4 separate regions of the Homo sapiens genome follow, and all the other regions are linked to region 3. The links are contacts of gene promoters, found by promoter capture Hi-C in human tissues and cell types (Jung and others, 2019). All regions are on one chromosome and are shown on one strand. Each heading gives the region's core, a stretch centred on a gene start or on the middle of the fragment in contact. The rest is flanking DNA. Distances are from core to core; before and after follow the strand shown. Region 1 overlaps TMEM135 (transmembrane protein 135). Region 2 holds the start of TMEM135 (transmembrane protein 135). Region 3 holds the start of FZD4 (frizzled class receptor 4). Region 4 overlaps TMEM135 (transmembrane protein 135).

What was found. The method cuts DNA at HindIII sites, captures the fragments that hold promoters and counts their contacts. A contact is called where the count stands out against the background at its distance.
Region 1: a contact is called between a fragment that was not itself captured here and the fragment with the promoter of FZD4 in region 3, in 6 of the 25 tissues and cell types used here (H1 embryonic stem cells, dorsolateral prefrontal cortex, liver and 3 more).
Region 2: a contact is called between a fragment that was not itself captured here and the fragment with the promoter of FZD4 in region 3, in 6 of the 25 tissues and cell types used here (adrenal gland, aorta, bladder and 3 more).
Region 4: a contact is called between a fragment that was not itself captured here and the fragment with the promoter of FZD4 in region 3, in 2 of the 25 tissues and cell types used here (heart left ventricle and neural progenitor cells).

What each region holds. Positions count from the first base shown.
Region 1 is chr11:87,057,233-87,060,126 of GRCh38, forward strand. The region is part of intron 1 of TMEM135 (transmembrane protein 135); the gene reads left to right. Among named protein-coding and RNA genes, the nearest start is that of TMEM135, 21 kb to the left of the region's middle. The HindIII fragment of the contact is 7,883 bases long and covers 1-2,894 here.
Region 2 is chr11:87,035,967-87,039,122 of GRCh38, forward strand. TMEM135 (transmembrane protein 135) reads left to right here and starts at 1,968. Exons shown (of 15, transcript NM_022918.4): 1 at 1,968-2,220. The coding sequence starts at 2,080. LOC105369422 (a long non-coding RNA gene) reads right to left here and starts at 1,829. Exons shown (of 5, transcript XR_007062827.1): 1 at 1,658-1,829. RefSeq lists an enhancer at 1,443-1,943 and a silencer at 1,600-1,989. The HindIII fragment of the contact is 9,814 bases long and covers 1-3,156 here.
Region 3 is chr11:86,953,942-86,956,765 of GRCh38, forward strand. FZD4 (frizzled class receptor 4) reads right to left here and starts at 1,454. Exons shown (of 2, transcript NM_012193.4): 1 at 860-1,454. The coding sequence starts at 1,144. FZD4-DT (FZD4 divergent transcript) reads left to right here and starts at 1,680. Exons shown (of 3, transcript NR_038905.1): 1 at 1,680-1,771. RefSeq lists silencers at 1,132-1,181, 1,312-1,681, 2,032-2,181. The HindIII fragment of the contact is 8,131 bases long and covers 1-2,824 here.
Region 4 is chr11:87,075,361-87,078,437 of GRCh38, forward strand. The region is part of intron 3 of TMEM135 (transmembrane protein 135); the gene reads left to right. Among named protein-coding and RNA genes, the nearest start is that of TMEM135, 39 kb to the left of the region's middle. The HindIII fragment of the contact is 5,757 bases long and covers 1-3,077 here.

The DNA.
Region 1 (2,894 bases), core at 369-2,868, 100 kb after region 3:
GAAAATGTAGGAGAGGAAGGCTATTACAGGTAAGGTATGTAAGGCTTAATGGTCATCGCTAAAGTTTGAATGGTATGATTTTCATTACAGGGAGGCTTTACAGTATCATCATTACGGAAAACTTTTGAAGATTGCTTGTATCTTCCCACATATATTATTAACAAGTTGCCCTAGTTTTTTGGCTTTCTTGTTTTGTTTTTAATAAGCTGATTCTTGTATCTGTTGGGGGCAGCATGGTGTAATGCACTGGTTGTGAGTTACAAGATCTGAGTTTTTGTTTTGCTTTGCGATTTATGATGCGATTTCTTCATTTATAAGTAGAAGAGAATCTTGCCTTAACTTCGTGGCTTGCTGTGGGAATCATATGAGATAGTGCACATATAAAAGCTTTAAAAACTGTAAGAAGATAGGTAAATATTGGTCTATAATACTTGGTTTCTTGTTATTTTGTTTGAGATATTTATATTTGGCTTTTGTAGCTTATGATTCTAACCTTAAAAATAAAGACGTTGGAAGCAATTCAGATTTAGCTTATTAGAGTTCTTCAAAGAAACAGAAGCCTCTGTGTGTGTGTGTGTGTGTGTTTGTGTGTGTGTATAAAATAAGGAATTGGCTCACAATTTTGGAGGCTTAATAAATGCCAAGATCTGCAGTTGGCATGCTGGAGACCCAGAGAGCCAATGTGTAATTCCAGTGTGAGTCCAAAGGCCTGAGTACTAGAAGAGGACAATGGTGTAAGTTCCAGTCTGGAAGCCAGCAGGCTGTAGACCCAAGAAGAACTGGTGTTTCAGTCAGGTCTGAAGGCAGGAAAATACCAGTGTCCTAGCTCAAGAAATCAGGCAGGAGGAGTTTGTTGTTTTGTTCTCTTCAGGTCTTCAACTGAGAGGATGAAGCCTACTCACATTAGGAAGGACAATCTTTTTCTCAGTCTACTGATTCAAATGTTAATCTCACCTAGAAGCACCCTCATAGACATACCCAGAATATCATTTGACCAAATGTCTAGGCATTCCTTGGCCCAGTTAGATTGATACATAAAATTAAACATGGTATACAGAAAAATTTGTTTGTTACAACAAATAATTCTGCCTCCTTTATTATTATTATTATTATTTTTTTGACAGTCTTGCTCTGTCACTCAGGCTGGAGTGCAGTGGCGTGATCTTGGCTTGCTGCAACCTCTGTCTCCTGGGTTCAAGTGATTCTGCTGCCTCAGCCTCCTGAGTTGCTAGAATTACAGGCGTGTGCCACCACACTCCACTAATTTTTTGTATTTTTAGTAGAGACTGGGTTTCGCTATGTTGGCCAGACTGGTCTTGAACTTCTGGTCTCAAGTGATCCACCCGCCTTGGCCTATGATAAATTGTTTTTTAAAAACAAGGTCTTATTTTATTTTATTTTATTTTTGACAGAGTCTTGCTCTCTTGCCGAGGCTGGAGTGCAGTGGCGCGATCTCAGCTCACTGCAAGCCCCACCTCCTGGGTTCATGCCATTGTCCTGCCTCAGCCTCCCGAGTAGCTGGGACTACAGGCGCCCACCACCATGCCCGGCTAATTTTTTTGTATTTTTAGTAGAGACGGGGTTTCATCATGTTAGCCAGGATGGTCTCCATCTCCTGACCTCATGATCTGCCTGCCTCACCCTCCCAAAGTGCTGGGATTACAGGCATGAGAACAAGGTCTTATTTTTAATTTTAATTTTAATTTAATTTTTTTGTTTGTTTGAGACAGAGTCTCGCTCTGTCACCCAGGCTGGAGTACAGTGGTGCAATCTTGGCTCACTGCAACCTCCACCTCCTGGGTTCAAGCAATTCTCCTGCCTCAGCCTCCCAAGTAGCTGGGATTACAGGCACCCACCATCATGACTGGCTAATTTTTGTATTTTTGTGGAGACGGGGCTTCACCATGTTGGGCAGGCTGGTCTTGAACTCCTGACCTCAGGCGATCCACCTGCCTCGGCCTCCCAAAGTGCTGACGTCAGCCACCGCGCCCAGCCGAAAAATTTTTAGAAAAAAAATACAGGAGGTCTTTTGATTATGGATGAATATCCTACTTTAGTTCTGTTGTTTGAAGTTCTTTTTTTTTTTTTTTGAGATGGAGTCTCGCTCTGTTGCCCAGGCTGAAGTGCAATGGCGTGATCTCGGTTCACTGCAATCTCTGCCTCCCAGATTCAAGCGATTCTCCTGTGATTCTCCTGCCTCAGCCTCACAAGTAGCTGGGATTACAGGCGTGTGCTACCACGCCTGGCTAATTTTTGTATTTTTAGTAGAGACAAGGTTTTGCCATGTTGGCTGAGCTGGTCTCGAACTCCTGACCTGTAGTGATCCACTCGCCTCAGCCTCCCAAAGTTCTGGGATTACAGGCATGAGCTACCACACCTGGCCTTTCCCAGATACTCTGATTACCAGAGAGGAAATCTCTTCTTAACACTTAATAAAACAAAACTGCACAACACAAGAAGGAATTGGGGTTGAATCAGGAAGCAATTCTGCAGAGTGAAGGAAACTAGCATTTTCAAAATGCCTACTATGTGCTAGTTACTCTGCTAAATACTTTATATTTGTTATCTTATTTATAAAAAGTACTTATTAACAGATCTTGGGGCCGGGCGTGGTGGCTCACGCCTGTAATTCCAGCACTTTGTGAGGCCAAAGCAGACAGATCACGAGGTCAGGAGTTCGAGACCAGCCTGCATAAAATGGTGAAAATCTGTCTCTACTAAAAATACAAAAATTAGCTGGGTGCAGTGGCACATGCCTGTGGTCTCAGCTGCTTGGGAGGCTGAGGCAGGAGAATCGCTTGAACCGGGAGGTGTAGGTTGCTGTGGGCGGAGATCGCGCCACTGCACTCCAGCCTTGGCAACAGAGCATGACTCTGAATAAAAAAAAAGAAAGA
Region 2 (3,156 bases), core at 492-2,991, 82 kb after region 3:
AAGAATGGTGTGCCCGGATATTTGGGTAGCCAGAGACATAGAACTATGGCAGACACTGCTAGTTGCCTCTAATATCTGTTTTTTCCATTTTGCTCAGTAATAAAACCTCAAATGTTAGCTGGGCATTTGTCCCATTAATTAAAAAAGATTGTATTCACCATCCTCTCTTGCAATGAAGTGTGGCCATGTGATTAAGCTTTGTCCAAGGAACGTAAGTTGTAGTAGTTTGTATGGATCTTCTGGGAAGTTTTTTTAAAAACAGGAAGTATGCCCTTTTCTCCCCGCCCCCGCCCCCCCGTTTTTTTTTTTTTTTTTTTTTTGAGATAGAGTCTCTCTCTGTTGCCAAGGCAACAGTGGTGTGATCTTGGCCCACTGCAACCTCTGCCTCCTGAGTTCAAGCGATTCTCCTGCCTCAGTCCCTGAGTAGCTACGATTACAGGAGCGTGTCACCATTTCTGGCAAATTTTTGTATTTTTAGTAGAGACAGGGTTTCACCATGTTGGCCAGGCTGGTCTCAAACTCCTGACCTCAAGTGATCCACCCGCCTCAGCCTCTCAAAGTACTAGGATTACAGGTGTGAGCCACCGCGCCCGGCCTCTCTTCCCCTTTTGCTGGTCTTCCTGGCTAGCATGTTGATGTCATGTTATTTTCTAAGTTAGGGTGGAAATCACAGGTAGCAGATGGCATAGCAAACTGTCACAAAGAGGCTGGGATCCCTAATCGTTATGGAGCCACCATTTTATTCTAGGACTGCCTACCTTTACCTGAGAGAAAGATACTTTTATCTTTTTGCCATTGTTGTTTTGGACTTTTCATCTGAGTATTTCTCTTTTATTTTCTTCAAACAACTACACCTATCTGATATTATCTTGTTCAGTTTTCTTTGTTATTTTCTGTCTTCTCCCTCTAGAATACTAGCTTCGTGAAAATAAAAATCTTGTCTCTCTTGTTTCTGTTTGTTTCCTTAGCACAGTGCCTGGTAAATAGTAATGACTCAGTAAATATTTGTAGATGAATGAATGAAGACTAGAAGATTCGAATGGAATTCTTCTAAAGGTAGTTCGTTTCTGCTTTAAGAGACTATGGAATTTAGAAATCCAAAGAAACTGGCAGGTTTGTTACATGTGAGGAGATTGACAGAGGGGTTATATGACTCAAGCAACACAGGACCCTTGTCTTGCTAATTGTTGGCCAAGTTCCCTAGCCAGGTCTGAGTTCTAACACACGACTGCCGCCTCTACTGTGTGTGCTGTTTGGTTGATAAGCACCTATCAAAGATGCTGTAGACAGGATTGCTCCGTGGCCTAAGGTTTGGACAGGATGACCTATTGCCCTTCCCCACACACGGTCGGGGTATGAACATAGCTGAGACTTTTCAAGCCTTCGCAGGTATCACAGAGCTTGGAAAGCCCAGCACTTGGGGGTAGTTAGTTGCAACTAGCAGGCAGCCCTAGCTGTTTATTACCTGGGACTCTCGGGAAGGCAAGCTCCCGGTGCTGGGGAGGACGTTTGTCCCAGGCATTCCTCTGGCAACCCTCTTCCTCCACCAGCTCCCAACAAAGACATTTAATCCCTTTCTTCCACTACCCTCCGCTCTACTTGGCTTGCAGTTGGAAGCTGAAGTACAATTTGACCCAAGCCACCCCCTACTGCGCACCTGCCATAGCGCTTGCGCCCCGGAGCCGGGCACGGCGTCGCGGGGGTGGGGAGGCGGCTCGTCCCCGAGCTGCGCTCCCTCGCGTACAGCCTCGGCTCTGGGTGCGAAGATCCTCTCTGCCTCCGCTCACCCAGCCGCGCCGCCGCGCGGGAACGCGCCCCAGCGGATGCCCTCTTGAGGGAGCGCGCACGCGCCGCCTCTCCCCGCCTCCCCGGTGCGCGTCCCGCCCCCTTGAGCTGCGATACGCCGAGCGCTCAACATCCGAGGACTTTGGCCCAGAGTAACCCCGCTCTCGTGACCTTTCCCCTCCATTCCGCACCTCCGAGTGCTGGCCGGGCGAGAGGCTGGCGGCTGGGCTCTCGCGCCCCTCCCTGCAGGGCTCAGGCTCTCCCCCTCCTGTCTTCTCCGCGCTGTTCCTCGTCATGGCGGCCCTCAGCAAGTCCATCCCTCATAACTGCTATGAGATCGGCCACACTTGGCACCCTTCCTGCCGGGTCTCCTTCCTGCAGATCACCGGGGGCGCCCTGGAGGAGTCCCTGAAGATCTATGCTCCTCTGTACTTGGTGAGACCCGTCACCCGTCCCGCAGGGCGAGTTTAGTCTGGAAGATGGGCCGGGGGCTGCAGTTGGTGCTCCCGAGGGGCTCTGGGGGACTTGCCTTGTGTCGGGCTCTCTTTTGGAGGGGTCGGAGTGTTTTGGGGGGTCGGTAGGGGGAAGGGGGAGGTCGCAAGGGAAGGATATACCAATTCCTGCAAGGGAGAAGGAGGAGGGGAATTAGAGATTGAGCTGTCATCTGAATGCCTGTTGCTAGGAAGAGGATGGCTCCCAACTTTTAGAATTAAGTTTAGGACACTTAAAAACGTTAATTCAAAGACCAGCCTTATTTTCCTCTGGCCTGCCTTGTGATGGAGAGGTATTTGTAGGTCAGCGAGGCTATGAGAAGGACCTGCAATCTTTCCTCATCTAGTTTCCCCTGTTTTATTTTGCTTTTTTTTTTTTTTTTTTTTAATGAAGAAGGCATATTTGGCCCTAAGTCCCTGTGGCCTCAGATCTTGACTCAGTTTTGAGATGACAGGATTGTGATTTGGGGGTTTTGCAAGTGTTTTTGCAAGTTCACAGAACAGACTCCTGGGTTGAGATTGTGTGTGGTGATTTAAAGGGTGATGCCAGTCTTTCAGTCAGTGAACTTGGTTAGGACATCTGACTTTGTGTCACCTAGGACCTTCTGTTACACAACTTTACATACAGGGCAATTAATAGGGAATATTTGGCAGTATGTATATGTAACACTGAGGACTATTAAAGATGCTCTTAAATGTTCTCCGCAAAATCTTTTTTTCAATAATCTTATCCTTGATATTAAAGATTTATTATTACTTTGGCCATTGAAGTGCATTGTCTCATTTTCTTGCCTTACAGTTTGTGTCCTAAGAAGACAGATCATATTTTTTGTATGTCTTCTAAAAGTTTCAATATTCAGCAGATGATCAATTATTATTT
Region 3 (2,824 bases), core at 204-2,703:
ACTAACGTCTACTTTTTCCCACAACTTCTCTCTTTTCTAAATTTCTAAAAATCACCCAGCCTCACCAACCCAAACATAACCAATGTTAACACTTTAAAAATTTTCCTGTCAGTCTTTTATTATCCCAATAAATTTTTTATTTTGCAGGATTATAATCACCCTGTATATGCAAATTCTTATTACTGTGGAATAAACATTTTCTCTATCATTAGATATGCTTTACATTTTTTAATGACTGCAAAAAAATTTCTTCCAATATACCAACCACCTTCCTGCAGCTTCTTCTCACCCTCCAAGCATTAAACGTGCCTTCAACTGTGAGGATAAGAAAGAACTCAAGCCAACCCAACCACTCCTTCATGCATGACCTCTAAAACGCTGCGGGACGTCGTGAGAAGGGGCTATTCAGCAGAAAAAGGTGCAGTAGTGTTTCATTTAATAACACCCCAAAAATAGTGGGGAGAAGGAAGTTCGGTGAAGGATGGTCTCCTTATCACTCCCTCCAAGTCTTAGCTGCAGCTGGCTCCCTCCCACTCGCCCACCGAGCAGTGGCGGCCAGAATCCTTGGCAGAGATAACCCTCAGCTCCACTGGGGTTAGGGGTCTGGGCCAGACATGGGTGGGCAAGAGAGAAAAACGGAAGGGCGGGGTGTAAGAGTGGGTTCTTTCCCAGGCCAGATGACTTACACAACGTTTTGGCTTCCAGTCCCTGAGAAAGTGGGGGTGGGGATGGAAATCACTTTTCCAGGAGAGCTGTCTCCTTCGGGCTAGGATGATCAACTTGGCATGGGCTCTGCAAAGTTAGTTTGGAGCGTCCCTCCCCAAGGGGTCCCGCCAGGGGTGGGGGTGGGGGCGCCCACCTGCAGCTGGCTGGAGCAGCCGTACTGGATGAGCGGTGTGAAAGTTGTCAGCTGCAGCTCGGCGTCCGTCTGCAGCTCGTGCCCAACCAGGTTGGGCATCTTGGTCACGTTGTAGCCGAGGTTCTGGCACATGGAGATGCGGATGGGGTCGCAGCGCCGCTCTTCCTCGTCCCCGAAGCCCCGCGCCGGCCCCAGGAGCAGCAGCAACTGCAGGAGCAACCCCAGACTGAGACCGACGCCCCCGGGCGCCCCCGGGACGCTCGGCCCTGCGCCCCGCCAGGCCATGGCCAGCATCGGGGGTAGCAGCGGCAGCGGCTGGGGCTGCTCTGGCAGACACCCCCAGTTTGCACGGGGGCGCCGGCTGCCCGCGCTGCTCCCAGCTCCCGGGACGGGAGTGTGATGCGGCGACGAGGGGGCAGCGGCCGGCTCTCCAGCAGCTGCGCGCGACTGTGTGGGATTTTAGACGTCCCGGGCCGAGGCCGAGGGACAGGCTGCGAGGGTCATGGCTGCAGGCGGCGAGCCCACAAGCCGGCGCCGGCCGCGTCCGTTCGGCGTCTCCGCGAGGCCAGCCAGCAGCCAGCGCTGCGCAGCTCTCACCGCCGGAGCCCTGCGCGGCGCTGGAGGCTCGCGGCGCGGCGGCGGGGCGGGACGGACAGCGGGCCTCTCCAATGGCCGGGCGCGGTGGGCAGCTAGGGGCGAGGCGGCGGGGCGGGGCCGCTCTCCCGCAGGAGGAGTCAGGCCCCCGCCCTCCGGCCCCCTCCTCCGGCCGCCCCTCCCTCCCTCCCTCCCCTAGCGCCCCGCCCCGCCCGCCTCCCGGCTCTTGCTTTCCTCCCACCCGGATCTAGGCGCGCAGGGGCCAAGCAGGGACGCAGCCCAGTGGCTCCAGCCACGCCGTCCTGCCCCCTTCTGCAGGTGAGAAGTGCGCCCTGTTCCATCTGCCCCCTTTCCTTCCTGTCTCCTTTCAGCTGTAACCTAGGCCGGTGGCCACCTCCCCGTCAGGCAGAGAAACGTACACAAAGAATTGGGGATTTGGATTTACACCGATTGTGGCTTTCAGTCCCGGTTGTGTGACCTTGAGCAAATTGCTCAACCCCTCGGCGTCAGTCTCCTCTGTAAAGTCACTTGGGAGGATTAGAGATAAAGTGTAGAAGGCTTAGCATGGTGCCTGGTACTGCGTGAGTCCACAGCTATTTTCACTCCGGACCAGCGGCGATCGGGGCCCGGCCTCTCCCCGCCCCCAGACTCGCCCGACCTGCGCAGGGAGCCGCCCACCTCCAGCCGCCAGCGGGGAGGCGCCCCAGAGCTGCGGAGCTGCAGACCCGCCGACGGTCTCGCGCTCTGATTTCCTCACCGTATGAAATGAAATTCCACAGGGGGATTCGAAAGGAAATGAGACCGGGACTCTCCGTGCTTCTCGGCCCGCCGCCCTTCCTGTCTCGGGGACACGGTTTCTAAATAAGGTTGGGAGGGTGAGAGGGCGGGAGGGGAGAGGCTTGACCTGTGCACTGGGGACGAGGAAGGCGCACAACCACCGTGACTCCTCTCTCCCGGCCTCCCGGGCACCCCCTCCCCACCAGGCTGCACCCCTTTTTTTCTTTGCTTCTGCTTCGGCTCCTAGGGATCTGGGGATCATGTGACCCAGGTTTGAACCCAACTTTCCTGTCTCATTACCAGCCCCCCGCGGCTTTGTGCTGGTCCACCCTCTCTCTGCTTTCCAGTCGGCCAGTAAACTCCCAGCAGGTGGATTCCTCCACCGTTTACTTGTTGCTTGACTGTGTTGAAGCTATGGTGCCTCTCTGAGCCTCAAAGTGGCCGGCTGTAAAGTGGGGAAGTTCATATCCACCTCACACAGTTGTTCTAAGAGTTCAGTGAGATAATACCTGTAAATCATTTAGCAGTGTCTGACACATAATAAATGCTGAAGAACTTGGTGATTGGGGTGTGTGTGTGTGTGTGTGTGTGTGT
Region 4 (3,077 bases), core at 23-2,522, 120 kb after region 3:
AACCAGGATGGTTTCGATCTCCGGACCTCGTGATCTGCCCGCCTCAGCCTCCCAGAGTGTTGGGATTACAGGCGTTCGCCACTGCACCCGGTCCAATTTTTTATTTTTATATTAAGTAGCTGAGGTCTCACTGTGTAGCCCAGGCTGGGCCGGTCCTGAGCTCAAGTGATCCTCCTGCCTTGGCCACTGAAACTGTTGGGATTACAGATGTGAACCACTGCACTTGGCCTATTTTCTTTTAATCTAAGATAGTGTCTCCACTTTTTCCCTCTACAGCATTGCTTTATTGAAGTGACCAGGCCAGTTGTCTCGTTGTATGTAATACATTTCTGATTTGTCTGAGTTATTTCTTCATGGAATTGGTGAATTGGTTCAACAATTGGGTCCCAAGCCCAATATCATTATGGTTTTTGCTGACGTGTAGAGGTACGTACTGCCTTGGTGGTCTTGTATAAGATCCAGAAGAAATCTCTGGATTAAAGCAGAGATTCTTGTTCTTTTCCCTTACTTTCTCCTAAATAAACAGGGTCTCTCTCTCTCTCTCTGTGTGCTGAACTGCTTGGAACTGAGCATGAGGTGACACAAGCATCCCTGTGGCTACCATCCCTGGGACTGCGCTGGGTCAGACTTGAAGCTAGCACAGCAGTGGGTCTTGCCCAAGGCTTGCTGTAACCATTACTTGGCTACCACTTGTGTTCACTCAAAGCCCTAGGGCTCTATAATCAACAGGTGGCAAAGCCAGCCAGGTTTTGTCCTTCCCTCTGGGTGACAAGTTCTCCCGGGCCCTGGGCAGGTCCAAAGATATTGTCTGGGAGCCAGGGATAGGAGTAAGAAAAGTTTGCCTGATATTCTTTTCCACTGTGGCTAAACTGGTGCTCAAACCACAATATAAAGTCCTTCCCACTCTTCCCTCCCCTTTCCACAGGCAGAGGAGCCTCTCCATGTGGGCACCACCACCACCAGCCCATGGCAGGCTTCTGACTGGCCACTGCTGATGTTCACTTAAATACCACAGGCTCTTCAGTCAGCCTGTAGTAAATGCTGCCAGGCCTGGGACTCACCCTTCAGGGCAGTAGGCCCCCCCTCTGGCCTAGGGTAGGTTCAGAAATGCTGTCCAAGAGCCTAGACCTGGACTTGGGGACTCCAGGAGCCTGCTTGTTGCTTTACCCCACTGTGTCCAAGCTGGTACCTACGTGCAAGACAAAGTTCCCTTTTGTTTTCCTTCTGCTTTTCTCAGACAGAAGGAGTCTTTTGCCATAGCCAGCCACAGCTGGGAATGTGCTAGGTCACATCTGTAGTGGGCATGTCTCAGAGCCCAAGGCTACGGCATACTCCTTGGGTATCGCTCCTAATTATTCAGGGTCTAAGGGCTTGTTAGTCTGCAGGTGATGAATCCTGCCAGTACTGGGTGCTTTCCTTCAAGGCAGCAGGTTCCCTTTTGGCCCAAGGTATGTCTAGAAATGTCATCCAGGAGCAAGGCTTGGAATGGATCCTTCATGACTCTGCCTGGTCTCTTCTCCTACTGTGGCTGAGCTGGTATCCAGTGATGACATCTTATTTAACTGTAGTATAATATAAAACCAGGAAGTTGACATTACTGTCAACTACACTATAGACTTCATTCAGTATTCACTAATTCTTATGTATACTCATTTGTGTACATGTCTATGCAGTTTGTTCCCATGTATAGAGTTGTTTACCCACCACTACAATCAATGTCCAAAACTGTTTCAACACTACCAAGGATTGCCCTTGAACTATCCCTTTGTAGTTGCACCATTTTCATCAATTCCTGTCTCCTGGTAACAACTAGTCTACTTTTCATTTCTATATTTATATCATTTCGAGGAAGTTATATAAATGGAATGATGCAATGTATAACGTTTGGACATAGGCTTTTTCTTTTTTAAACTAAGCATGATGCCTTTGAGATCCATCTAAGATGTAGCTTGTATTACTAAGCTTATTCCTTTTTTATTGCCCAGTAGCATTCTACTATATGGATGTACCAGAGTTTGTTAAACATTCACTTGTCGAAGGACATTTATGTTATTTTCAGTTTTTGGCTGCTCCATCCATGGACATGGTTTATCTCTCCATTTAATTAGATCTTTTATTTCTTTTCATCAGTTTTTATAATTTGCAGAATGCGTTTCATATACGTGTTAGATTTACACCTGTTTCCCTTTTTGGGAACAATTGCAAATGATTTTTCTGTTTTTGTAATAGCTTTATTGAGTCATAATTCATATTCCATACAGTTCACCCTTTTGAAAACTGCACAATTCATTTGTTTTTAATATATTCACAAAGTTGTTTAACTACCATCACAAACAATTTTAGAACACTTTATTCACCTCAAATAGAAACCCCTTTAACTGTCACCCCCTAATCCTTCATCCTCCTCACCCAGCCCTAGGCAACCACTAATTTCTGTCTCTAAAGATTTGCTTCTTCTGGACATTTTATATAATGGAGTCATACAATATGTGTCATTGGTGACTGGCTTCTTTTACTTAGTGTAATGGTTTTGAAGTTTGATGTCATACGTATCATTTCATTACATTACTTTTTATTGCCAAATAATTCATTATATGGATATGTCACATTTTATTTATTCATAAGTTGATGGAAATTTGGATTGTCCCACTTCTTGGTTATGAATGTTGCTACACTAAACATTTGTGGACACATTTTTGTGTGGACATATGTTTTTATTTTTCTGGATTATGTACTCAGGAATGGAATTGCTGCCTTAATATGGCAACTCTGTTTAGCTTTTTGAGGAACTGCCAAACTGTTTACCAAAGTGGTTGTACCATTTTCTGTTTTGTTCAGCAGTATATAAAGGGTCCAATTTCTTCGCATTTTGGCTATCACTTGTTATTACATGTCTTTCTGATGATAGTCATTGTAGTGAGTGTGAAGTATTTCATTATGGCTTTGATTTTTCTCAGATGACTAATGATATTGAGCATCTTTTCATATAGTTTTTGATCATTTACATATCTTCTTTGGAGAAATGTCTATTCAAATCCTTTGCCCATGTTTTAATTGGGTTATTTATCTTTTAATTA